Regions from separate parts of the Homo sapiens genome. Here all the other regions are linked to region 2. Evidence: promoter capture Hi-C in human tissues and cell types (Jung and others, 2019). All regions are on one chromosome and are shown on one strand. The core of a region is centred on a gene start or on the middle of the fragment in contact, and the rest is flanking DNA. Distances in the headings are between cores, read along the strand shown.

Region 1 (3,171 bases), core at 588-3,087, 1.3 Mb after region 2:
GGGTTACTGCCAGAAGAATCTGGGACAGCTGCACTAGTGTTATATTTCAACCATGTACCCAATCTATGAACTGCTTCCACCAAATGTGAGTGATTTTTTCCTAGCACTTGTTTCCGCTTTCACAAAACACTTTTGGATTTGAAAATGTTTCTGCCTTCTACCCTTTTAAAAAAATGAGATATGAATATGTACATTTATATCTATATATATTTATACTAATTTTTTTTTCTTTGAGACAGGGTCACTCTGTCACCCAAGCTGGAGTGCAGTGGCACAATCACGGCTCACTGCAGCCACAGCCTCCTAGGCTCAAGTGATCCTCCCACTTCAGACTTCTGAGTAGCTGGGACTACAGGTATGCGCCACCATACCTGGCTAATTTTTTAAATTTTTTTGTAGAGACAGGGTCTTGCTATGTTGCCCAGTGTGGTGTGGAACTCTTGGCCTCAAGCAATCCTCCCACCTCAGCCTCCCAAAGTGGTGAGATTACAAACATGAGCCACTGTGCCCCACCTCATGGTACATTTTGATTCTATTACTAGCCTTTCAAAATTGGTTTTGAGAATAACAAAGAACCCATTTTTCTAACCTGTCCATTGTAATAAATGCCAGAGGATAAAGCCTTTGATGGACAGACAGGTGGCTCTCACAGTAGCAATCAGGTATCCAGGATCTCCTCTAATCCATGAATGCAGAGACAACTCTAGCTTCTACAGCATTTAGTGATGATTCAAGTAAATTTTATTTTTAAGCTTGTATTTAAAAGGAAACAATTTGTTAGACAGCCACAGGTAGCACCTACAACCAATTTAATCTGTAATAACCAGTCTAATAAGTGTGTATGTTGGAGGTGTGGGAAGTGAAGATGAAGGCAGCAGAAATGATCAGGTTGAAAAAGTGGACATCTGGGTGACTTACTATGTAAACATAGCTTAAAGTACACATTTCTGAATACCTTGCTTCTAACAGGCTAAGGACTAAGTTTCTCTCTCTTCGTTAAAGCTCTGATCTCTCTCATACCCTCCTTCCCACCACCAATGATTACTGTAAATACTGTAATGGATCAAGCACGACGTTTGCTTCAGTTCTGCGTGGGCATGAAAAGACTTCTACCACCAGCTTACCTTTTATGGACTCCTACATCCATATAAGAATCAAAAGGGCACTTCCTGCAGGCTTCTGTCATGGGACAGCCCTGGGAACTGCCTTGTAATAGGCACAGACCTCCCAAGAGCATTTTAATACCCCCAGTGAACACTGTAAACGGATGGAAATGGAATTGGTCGTCAGATATTTATGATAACATTCCCATTCTGACATTTCAATGCCTTCGGAAGAACCCTCCTCGGCTCACTCACAAGCATCGGAGAGGGCCTTGTCCCCAAGAATACGAGAAAGCCCTTCCTCTCTGTGTACCTGCAGCTTTCAGGCTTCCCACACCTGGTTGGGGAGCAACCTCCTTCCCCCGCCGCCCAGATATCAGAGGAGTATACCTCTCCCAGGTGAGACCACTGAGCCTCTGGGATACCCGGTAGGGGAGGGAGGGTGCAAAGTACTGACAGGTCCTCAGATGCTGGCCAGAGGCTGAAGGAATGTGTCCAGGCTACTCACCAGGAAAGCAGAGAGGATCCCCTGCAGAGCGTCCAGCTTCTCTTCTTCCTCCTCCTCCTGCAGGATACCCAAGATGTAGGCTCCATAAACGGCTCGGTCCACTCCCAGTGCCTCCAACCGTCCGTCCAGCCAGGAGCCAAAGCCGCCGCCTCCGCCATCGCCTTCGCCAGGGGCTATCGCGGCCACTTCGCTGGGCGCCGCCATCTTGGGGTCAGGGTCCTGCAAGCCCCTAGGGCGCCTACCGCAGTGCCTGACGGGCCGCGCCGCAGGTCCACCGCGCATGCCTGAAGAGGAAGCCCAGGCCCGTAAGTGCAAAGAGCGCAGCCGTGTCGGCCGGCTTGAGAGTTTTGTGCTTTCTAGATGAAGCGCGTCTTCGCATACGTGCGGTCGCGTGATCTCACAAGATGCTTGGCATGTGAGTATTCTTAACAGACTCATTCTACAGTTCGGGAAGTTGAGAGAGGTGCAGTAATTTGGCCAAAGTCACGCGGCTAATAACTACCCAGGACTGGAGCTCAGCGTGGATGCCATCGCTTCCTCCACCCGACCGAGCTGCCTTCCCCGCGCTTTCGGGGGATGCTGGCCGCCCACTCCCACACAGCTGTCTGGCAAGAACCTCCTGACAGCCTGGAATACCCTCGTCGTCGCTACCGACGGCTACCACCTTCACCTGTACAAGCCCTTCCCTGTCAAAGTAAAGGTTGCAGAAAACCTTCCCTGATTCCATGGTAGGCACTCAGTAAATAAACAGGCAACCTCAAGTTATTTCTTCCACTCATTGATTCAACGCGTGCACGGGACTATTCTTTGAGAAGCGTACCCCACCCTCTGCTAGGCACTGTGCCAAAAGCTTTTCATGCATTATCTCTTGTAATCCTCCCTACAGCCCTGTGGGGAGATGCTTTTATTGTCCACATTTTAAAGATAAGGAGACAGGCCGGGCGCCATGTCTCACGCCTGTAATCCCAACAGTTTGGGAAGCCGAGGCGGGTGGATCACCTGAGGTCAGGAGTTCGAGACCAGCCTGGCCGACATGGTGAAACCCCGTCTCTAGTAAAAATACAAAAATAAGGCCGGGCACGGTGGCTCACTCCCGTAATCCCAGCACTTTGGAAGGCCAAAGTGGGCAGCTCACCTGAGGTCTGGAGTTCGAGACTAGCCTGACCAAAATGGAGAACCCCCGTCTCTACTAAAAATACAAAATTAGCCGGGCGTGGTGGGACATGCCTGTAATCCCAGCTACGTGGGAGGCTGAGGCAGGAGAATCGCTTGAACCCAGGAGGCGGAGGTTGCGGTGAGCAGAGATCGTGCCATTGCACTCCAGCCTGGGCAACAAGAGCGAAATTCCGTCTCAAAACAAACAACAACAACAACAAAAGCCAGGTGTGGTGGCGCGGGCCTGTAATCCCAGCTACTCAGAATCGCTGGAACCCGGAAGGCGGAGGTTGCAGTGAGCCAAGATCGCGCCGCTGCACTCCAGCCTGAGCGACAGTGAGACTCCATCTCAAAAACAAACAAACAAACGAACAAACAAAATCACTAAAGATAAGGAGACAGATA
Region 2 (2,833 bases), core at 197-2,696:
CAAGGCTAAGTCTAAAGACCCATGGGCCAGGGGTGCTTACTGAGAACAGAGTACGTGGCACCATTAGGGGCAGAGGATGGAAGCAAGCACATATGAAACTAGGCATGGTGGCATGCTCCTGTAGTCCCAGCTACTCAGGAGGCTGAGGTGGAGGGTCACTTGAGCTGGGGAGGTCGAGGTTGTGAGCCATGGTCATGCCACTGCCCTCCACCACGGGCCACAGAGCGAGACTTGAAAAAAAAAAGAAAGAGAGAGAGAGGGAGAGAGAGAGAGAGAGAGAGAGGGAGAGAGAGAGAGAGGGAGAGAGAGAAAGAAAGAAAAAAAGAAAGAAAAAGAAAAAGAGAAAAAGAAAGAGAAAGAGAGAAAGAGTTGAAAATCTTGGAGGCCTTTGAAAACATAGAGAGACTGGACTTCTGTTTCTATGATCAGGGTGAGGTATACAGGTGGTCCCCAGTAGCCATGGACTGGGAGAGATGACACGGAGATACTACTTTGTGTAAGAGAAGAGTACATGTTTCAGAATCACAGGAACACCAATGTGTAATGAGCAGGCAGGCCGAGAGAAATGACAACGTATGTCCTTATAAAGACTTAGAGGCAAATGTTTAGAGCAGAATTATTCGAATAGCTTTGAACTGAAAACTACTCAAACGTCCATCAGTGGGTGAACGGATAAACAAAATGTGATATTCAGGAATAAAAACATAATGGTACAACATAATGGCACATGTCACAATGGGGATGAACCTCAGAAACATTATGCTCAGAGAAAGACATCAGTCAGACACAAAAGACCACATACTGTGTAATTCCTTTCATATGAAATGCCAGGAACGGGAACTCTAGACATAAAGTAGATCAGTGGTTAACTCAAGATGAGGGTGGGAGTGGGCAATGACTGTGTAGGGGAGGCAAAACTTTATCTCCTTAGGGTCCTTGCTGGGCCTGAGACTCAAACTGACATAGATTAGCAGGAGGAAAGCTATCATAAAAGCTGTCAATGTAAGTTTTACATGACACGGGAGCCCTCACAAGGAAATGAAAACCCAAGGCCACGATCATATATGTGCATTTGTTCTGGTTATTTTCTGCCTCCCCTTCCACTTGCCATTCTTCTCTCCCCTGCTCTTTTGTACTGCATAGAGCTGCATAAGGGTCGTGAGCCAAACAGCACTCCCTCTTGCTGCAGCTGGTCACAGGGCTGCCCCTGCTACTCATCCTGTGCCTCATGGGCAACATGTTATGCCCATGTCCAAGGTACAGAGAAGTGGACCCAGAGCCAGGGAGAGGTGATAGGGACCTTTGGGCGGGGTGGGAGGTGCTTATTGAGAACAGAGTCCATGTCACCATTAGGGAGAGAGCATGGAAGCAAGCACGTTTGACAATCCTGTGTCTGCCCTGTTTCTGGAGAGGCAGATGCAGACAGCAGGTCAGAGGGAATTTGACTGGACAGGAACTTGGGGGGTTGAGGGTAGCCATTGCATATAACCAAACCTGTTACACATTTCTTTGATATCTGATGTCATTGTGACATGATCTAGAAACCTCTGTCAAAATAGTTCCTAATGATACTAAACAACAACTGAGACTGTTTATTGAGTTTGTGAAATCAAGGAGTGGCTGCTCTTCTAGAAGCAGTGAGTTGATGTCTGTTCTAACATTGTTCTGAGACAAGGAAACCTTTTTATACTTTAATAGCCAGGGTCAGAATTTCTCAGATTGTATATTTGCATGTAGCACAGGAGATGCTCTTTTAATAAAAATCCAGAAATTTGTTGTGCACATTATTCAATAGAGAACAATATCAAATTAAACCAACAACAATGACACTTAACATTTGCCCAAAGCTTGGTAAATGTTGATGGTCACTGTGTACCTTCAGATAGCTGTGTACTCTAACAGAGAGAATGATTTCAAAATCAGTTGAAGAGAAAACGCCTCTGCCTGCCTGTACCTGTATATTACTGTCAATGTCAATCAGGAATGTGTGGGTTCATTCCAGTTATTTTCCGGCTCCCAATCTACTTGCCATTCTTTCATCTCCTGCTCTTTTGTACTGCATAGAGCTACAGAAAGTTAGTGAGTCAAACGACAGCCCCTCTTGGTGCATTTGGTCACAAGGCTGCCCCTGGTACTCAACCAGTGCCTCCTGTCCTCTCCCCTCCAAATCCCCCCTCCTTCTCAGCTATCAACTCTGTTAATCCTGGTGGTTTCCCTGGCTACCGTGACCCAAACTCTCATTCCTGAAAAGTCTAAACCCCTCAAGGCCACATCTTTCTCAAGTCAGGGTTCCTGCACTTGTCCATTCATGTCACAGGTGGACCTGGGAGTAACACGTGGCACCCAAACAGATCACCAGAGTTCACATATATTCCACCTGCCCTCCCTGCATAAGAGCACTACTCCCTCTTCCTGATGATGGTTCAGGGCCATTAATCCCTGCCAAGATGGTGACTGCTCCTGCCTGCTAGTTCAACCTGTCCAGCCACAGCTGTAGCTTGAAGGCTTGAAGTTCAATGGGACCCACTTCTGCTTCCACGCTTTCTTTCCTTTAATTTTAATTTTTATTTATTTGAGACAGGGTCTGGCTCTGTCACCAAGGCTGGAGTGCAGTGGTGCAATCACGGCTCACTGGAGCATCCACCTCCCAGACTCAACTGATCCTCCTGCCTCAGCCTCTGAAATAGCTGTTGTACAGATATTCGTCACCCTGAACAGGGCTTCACTACCTTGCCTAGGCTGTTTCTTTTGTGCTTTGTTTGTTCGTTCGTTTGTTTCGAGATGGGGCTCTGGCTTTGCCGCCTAGGCTGGAGTGTAATGGCGTGATCTCACC
Region 3 (2,951 bases), core at 289-2,788, 1.3 Mb after region 2:
CTGAGGTCAGGAGTTCGAGACCAGCCTGGCCAACCTGGTGAAACCCCGACTCTACTAAAATACAAAAATTAGCCGGGCATGGTGGCAGGCACCTGTAATCCCAGCTACTCGGGAGGCTGAGGCAGGAGAATGGCCTGAACCCGGGAGGCAAAGGTTGCAGTGAGCCAAGATTGCGCCACTGCACTCCAGCCTGGGCGACAGAGCGAGACTCCCTCTCAATAAAAAAATAAATAAATATAAAAACTATCACTCTGGTTGCTGAATGGAGAATGGATTATACTGGGGAGAGATAGGAAGCTACTCGGGAGTAGAAGTGAAGAATTGACCGCAGTACTTTAGGCAAGAAATGATAGCAGCTTGAACTAGGGTGGTGGTGGTCTGATTCCAGATGTACTTTGGAGGCAGAGTTAGTAGGATTTTTTTCTTGGAGTGGGGATGGGCACAAGGGAAAGTACTGAAAGACAACTTCTAGGTTTTTGGTTTGAGCAACTGGGTGAATGATTGTGACATTTGAGTAAACAGTAACATTTTACTGAGAGGGGAAGACCTGGGGGGAGAACAGGTGGTTTTTTGACAGGGGCAGCGAAACAAATGTTCTGTTTTGAATGTGTTCAGCCTGAGGTGCCTATTAGACATCCAAATTGAAATAGCCAGTAGGCACTTGAATATGTGAGTCTGGAGATCAGACAGGTCAGAGCTACAGAAAATCTGAAGGTGTGGCAGAGCTGAATTGTAAAGCTGTGGAGCTGGATGAGATCTCCTAGGGAGATAAGGGAGAGGGATAAGGGCTAAAGCGTTGGCATACTCCAAAATATATAGGTGAACAGTGGCTTTGGATCCAGCAAAGGGGACTGAGGAGGAACCATTGAGATAGGGAAAAAAACGGTAGAGTGCTGAGTCATGGAAGCAAAAAGAAGAAAGTATTTCAAAGAAGGAATAGTCCATCTATAAGTTGGATATGATAAGGATAGTATTTCAGACTGTGGAAATCACAGTTGACCTGGATAAGTACAGTTTTTGTGGGGAGGTCCCCAGCTCTCCACTGAATGATCTCTTATTAGATCAAATTTGATCTCTAATTAGCAGTCTAATTAGATGGGTTGAAGAAAAGATGGGAAGTGAGGGATAAAGATACGTCTTTTGAGAAGTTTTGTTGGGCAGGTAATAATTGAAGAACGGGAGGGGGACAAAAATGTGAAGATGAAATGATGTGTAAGTGAAATCTTTATGTAAACTGCAAATGCTCTGCAAGTGTTAGGCTTATTTTGTTATTTAGTATTCAAACTTCTAGGAATTTCAATGCAGCTCAGTGTGAAGAATCACTAAAAAGCGACCACTAGTCCTCAACTTGAGGGCCATTAAGGGGCAAAGCCGTCTAGCCAGTGAAGAGCCAAGAAATGAAGAGACGGTTTGAGAAGACGTAGGCGGTGGGGGAACGGAAAGAGGAATCGCGAAACTAATATTGTCCTTCCAAGGACACCGTAGGGCGGATCTCGCAGCTACGGCGTTCTTTTAGGGGTGGAGCCGGCAGGAAATTTAAACTGAAGCCGCGGCCGAAAACGCCAAGAGATTGATGCTGTAGCTGCCCTGAGATAACCAGGACTGTGGAATCGGGAAGAGCTCATGGAGCTCGCGAATGTAATACGGAGGCCTCTGAGGAAGGAGTACGGAGGCCGAGAAGGAGCCGGCATTTGATGAGCGAACCGGGAAAGGGTACGGATGCCGGGAAGGGGAGAAAGAAAGGCGGAAGGGGTCGTTAATAGCTGAGGCGAGGTGCGGAGTCGTGGAGGGGGCTTAGGAAGTGACCAGCGGGTAGGTGCCGAAGCTGAGGAGGGTATAGGGGCCGGGAAGGAGCCACAGGAGTTGAGGGGACCGAGGAATGAAGGTGGCAGAGGAACGTAGGGGACAACAGCCTGGAGGGATGTATGGAGATTGAGATGGACAGGAGGTGGCCAAGAGGTCACGGCCGTTGACTGAACGGAGTCTGAAAGGAGGCGGAGGGCATGAGGGGCAAGAGCCTGGCGGGAGTCGCGGGATGTAGGTCGGAATGGAGTTGAGTCTTGCTGTTCCCAGGAGTCGCGTTTCTGTGCGCGTTTTGGGAGACAGTAGTGGGCGGGAGGCATGGAAGTTCCAAGGGTTGGTGAAGATGGTTGAGTTGCTGTTATGTCCTTTCTCAGGAGACGATTGCCTCGAGCTGGAGAGTTCCATGGCTGAGAGTAGGCTCCGGGCCCCGGACCTAGGTGGGTAACAGGACAGAACTAGGGACGTGAGGTGAAAATTGCCCCAGGGTCTCTTGGAGAAGACCGAAAAATGTTCCCCCTGTTGGAGTTTTCGATCACTCAGTGTTTTTATGTACTTATTTATTCATTTTATTTATTGGGATGGGGTCTTGCTGTGTTGGCCAAGCTGGTCTCAAACTCCTGGCCTCAAGCAGTTCTCCTGCCTAGGCCTCCCAAAATGCTGGGATTACAGGTGTGAGCCACTTCACCAGGCCCACTTAGTGGTTTTATGTGTGTGTGTGTATGGACGCAGCATCATAGACCGTTTTGGGATTCATGATAAAGGTCAAGTAAGAGTCATATTATGAACAAGATTAACAGACAGATGTGGAGTCAGGATAGAGTGACTTATTAAATATATAAATTAATACATTCATAGTTGTTTACAATAAAATCCTTAAGTTAAACACTGCTACCTAATTAGGTAAGTATTTTAGCACATGGCACTTCCCTCCGTACTGCCCCTTTAGTTAATATCATCTAGTTGGCCGGGCGCGGCTGCTCACGCCTGTAATCCCAGCACTTTGGGAGGCCAAGGCGGGCGGATCACGAGGTCAGGAGATTGAGACCATCCTGGCTAACACAGTGAAACCCCATCTCTACTAAAAATACAAAAAATTAGGCGGGCGTGGTGAGGCGTGCCTGTAGTCCCAGCTACTCAGGAGGCTGAGG
Region 4 (2,750 bases), core at 91-2,590, 1.0 Mb after region 2:
GCAAATCAATTTAGGACATGTGCTCCTCTCCACATTTCCTTTCTTTTTTTTTTTTTTTTTTTTTTGAGACAGAGTTTCGCTCTCGTTGCCCAGGCTGGAGTGCAATGGCATGATCTCGGCTCACCACAACCTCTGCCTCTCAGGTTCAAACGATTCTCCTGCCTCAGCCTCCCGAGTAGCTGGGATTACAAGCATGCGGCACCACGCCCGGCTAATTTTTTTTTTTTTGAGACGGAGTGTCACTCTGTCACCCAGGCTGGAGTGCAGTGGCATGATCTCAGCTCACTGCAACCTCCACCTCCCGGGTTCAAGTGATTCTCCTACCTCAGCCTCCCGAGTAGCTGGGACTACAGGAGTGTGCCACCACGCTCAGCTAATTTTTGTATTTTTAATAGAGACAGGGTTTCACCATATTGGCCAGGCTGGTCTTGAACTCCTGACCTCATGATCTGCCCACCTCTGCCTCCCAAAGTGCTGGGATTGCAGGTGTGAGCCACTGTGCCTGGTCTCTTTTTTTTTTTTTTTTTTGTATTTTTAGTAGAGACGGGGTTTCTCCATGTTGGTCAGGCTGGTCTCGAATTCTCGACCTCAGGTGATCTGCCCGCCTCGGCCTCCCAAAGTGCTGGGATTACAGGCATGAGCCACCGCGCCCGGCCTCCTCTCTGCATTTCAAGGTGTTGAGGGTGGAGTGGTTCATACAACTGACCCTTGGGGAAAAAATAAAGCATCAACTCTTGTCTTCCCTTTGTTCTTGCTGTAGTTTTCAGTGCCCATCAGCCCACATGTGCCCTGCCCTTATACCTTCACCTGAGCCAGTCCCCTGGACCCCAACATTCTTGACAAGAAATCAACCTGAATAGGCCCCACAAGTCACCTTGCTCAACTGCTATCGCAAATGGGAAACTCGAAGCCCCCAGAAGCAGTGATGGGGAGGGGTCCTGCTCTCTCCCAATACCCCAACTTCCCTTACGGCTCACCTCCCATGGCTGTCCTTGTGGAAGTCCAGTGAAAATCCAAACTGGCTGCCATTGGGGCCTGCATAGAAGGTGAGCTGCACTGGGTCCAGGTTCAAGGCCCAGGCTGGAGGGGCAGCACAAGGTCCCAAGAGCAGCAGCACCCACTCCAGAAGCCAGAGGGCTTGCAGTGGACACAAAGCTCTGGCCATCTTCCTTCTTCCACAACCTCCCAGGCAGGAATGGGCCAGCTCCTCCTCCTTCCCTTCAGATTCCTCCACAGGAAGTCTTTTCTTATCAAACTGGAACCCCAAGTAACTTGCTGAGCAACGGGCAGAGCAAAGGGCTATAGCCCCTGGACTCATGGTGGCTAGAATTGCCAGGAAGTGGGTGAGGCCACCCAGAGGGTGGATGCTCATGGCTGAAAGCCATGACTCCTCCCCTTTCCTGAGAATAGTTTATTACCATGTCCTATTGGTTCTGCCTATCAATGATGTCTCTTGAATCTTTACCCCATCTCTACTACCACCGTGCTAGTCCAAGCCACCATCACTTTCTGCTTGGGATAGCGTGATTGTGAACTGGTCCATACTTGTCTACTCTAGCCTACAGTTCTAATCTCCTCCCTTCCCCCATCTGGCTGTACAGCTGTGGTGCTTTGTGACTTGGCCACAGGTCGGGGAAGGAGAAGGAAGCTGCTGCCCCCGATAAAACCTGAGGCTTCTGTATCTTTTTGGATATGGCATTTACCCACTTCCTCCTTCTAGGACCTTGGGCGGCCTCAACCAGCCATATTGGTGCAGCAGCTTCCTCACTCCTCCTCCGTCTTGAGCCAAGCTTTAGTGTGGCCACAGCAGTGCAGTCAGTGCTGGGGACAGGGTGGTGAATGGACCTTGGTCTAGGTGGCAAGGAGATTGGGGATAAAGTGGAGTTATTCCAGGGAATTTTGACTCACAGTTTCTGAGATTATGCATTAGCTGTTCAGTTGAAGGTAGGCCCTCAATCCTTTTTGGGTGATGGAGCTCTTTAACCATTAAGACTTGATTCTGGTTGGGGGCTTTGCCTAGGGGAGCCTTCCCTGACTCCTCAGGCTGGCCGCGTGGGCTAACACACGTAGGCACAGCATTGAGCACACTGTTTACTCTTGGTCCGTTCACAGGATTGTGTAAATGAGTCCCTTGGGAGCAAGGCTCCTTGCTACAGCCCTAGAGACTACCCAAGAGTCCAATGTGTAGTACGTGTATTGCTGAAAGACTGGATGGAAACACACACTAAGGATGGAAGATGCAAACATAGGGTGACAAAGTGAAGGGATGAGTTTTGAGCAGAAAGGCAAAGTCATTTTCTCTCGGTAAGCGGAAGAGGAGGAGTGCCAAGTCTTACTGGCACTCATGCCTTCCCAAAAAAGCAGGTTCTCAGGAAGATTTAAGAGGTCCGCTAGGGGTAACCATAGCCACATTTTCCTTTTGATTTCTATTTTCTGATCAAACTTAACCATTGCCGTATCCTGCTCAACCACCCTGTACCATTTTGAAGTCCCCTCGTAATTTACTACCTCAGCCTAGAGTTAAGAATCTTATCCTTTATAGGACAGGAAGCTAAAAGCCTGAACTTTGGTCTGGGCCTTCTTCATTGCTGAGTTCCCAGTGTCAAGTACATGGGAGGCGTGTAATTAATGTATTTGCTTGAACGAATACTTAACCCAGTCCTCTACTTACCTTCTATCCTCCCACTGTCCTCAGGTGAGTGATTGCTGTATTACTGGTGTATTCTGTGAGGCCAAATATGAACTTACAT

Evidence for each region. The method cuts DNA at HindIII sites, captures the fragments that hold promoters and counts their contacts. A contact is called where the count stands out against the background at its distance.
Region 1: a contact is called between the fragment with the promoter of CCDC43 here and a fragment that was not itself captured in region 2, in 1 of the 25 tissues and cell types used here (dorsolateral prefrontal cortex).
Region 3: the fragment with the promoter of DBF4B here is called in contact with a fragment that was not itself captured in region 2 in 2 of the 25 tissues and cell types used here (dorsolateral prefrontal cortex and hippocampus).
Region 4: the fragment with the promoter of ITGA2B here is called in contact with a fragment that was not itself captured in region 2 in 1 of the 25 tissues and cell types used here (spleen).

The regions. Positions count from the first base shown.
Region 1 is chr17:44,687,939-44,691,109 of GRCh38, forward strand. CCDC43 (coiled-coil domain containing 43) reads right to left here and starts at 1,838. Exons shown (of 5, transcript NM_144609.3): 1 at 1,612-1,838. The coding sequence starts at 1,815. LOC105371792 (a long non-coding RNA gene) reads left to right here. Exons shown (of 4, transcript XR_007065769.1): 2 at 1-85; 3 at 240-355; 4 at 1,003-1,075. LOC124904010 (a long non-coding RNA gene) reads left to right here and starts at 1,843. Exons shown (of 2, transcript XR_007065770.1): 1 at 1,843-1,916; 2 at 2,057-2,372. RefSeq lists enhancers at 1,571-2,160, 1,829-1,968. The HindIII fragment of the contact is 3,238 bases long and covers 340-3,171 here.
Region 2 is chr17:43,383,297-43,386,129 of GRCh38, forward strand. All of the region lies in intron 1 of LINC00910 (long intergenic non-protein coding RNA 910), which reads right to left. Among named protein-coding and RNA genes, the nearest start is that of LINC00910, 4.2 kb to the right of the region's middle. The HindIII fragment of the contact is 7,633 bases long and covers 1-2,833 here.
Region 3 is chr17:44,707,127-44,710,077 of GRCh38, forward strand. It overlaps DBF4B (DBF4B-CDC7 kinase regulatory subunit), which reads left to right and starts at 1,539. Exons shown (of 14, transcript NM_145663.3): 1 at 1,539-1,713; 2 at 2,178-2,240. The coding sequence starts at 1,695. RefSeq lists enhancers at 1,345-1,859, 1,860-2,373. The HindIII fragment of the contact is 13,873 bases long and covers 1-2,951 here.
Region 4 is chr17:44,388,309-44,391,058 of GRCh38, forward strand. It overlaps ITGA2B (integrin subunit alpha 2b), which reads right to left and starts at 1,341. Exons shown (of 30, transcript NM_000419.5): 1 at 978-1,341. The coding sequence starts at 1,165. RefSeq lists an enhancer at 1,498-1,557. The HindIII fragment of the contact is 17,139 bases long and covers 1-2,601 here.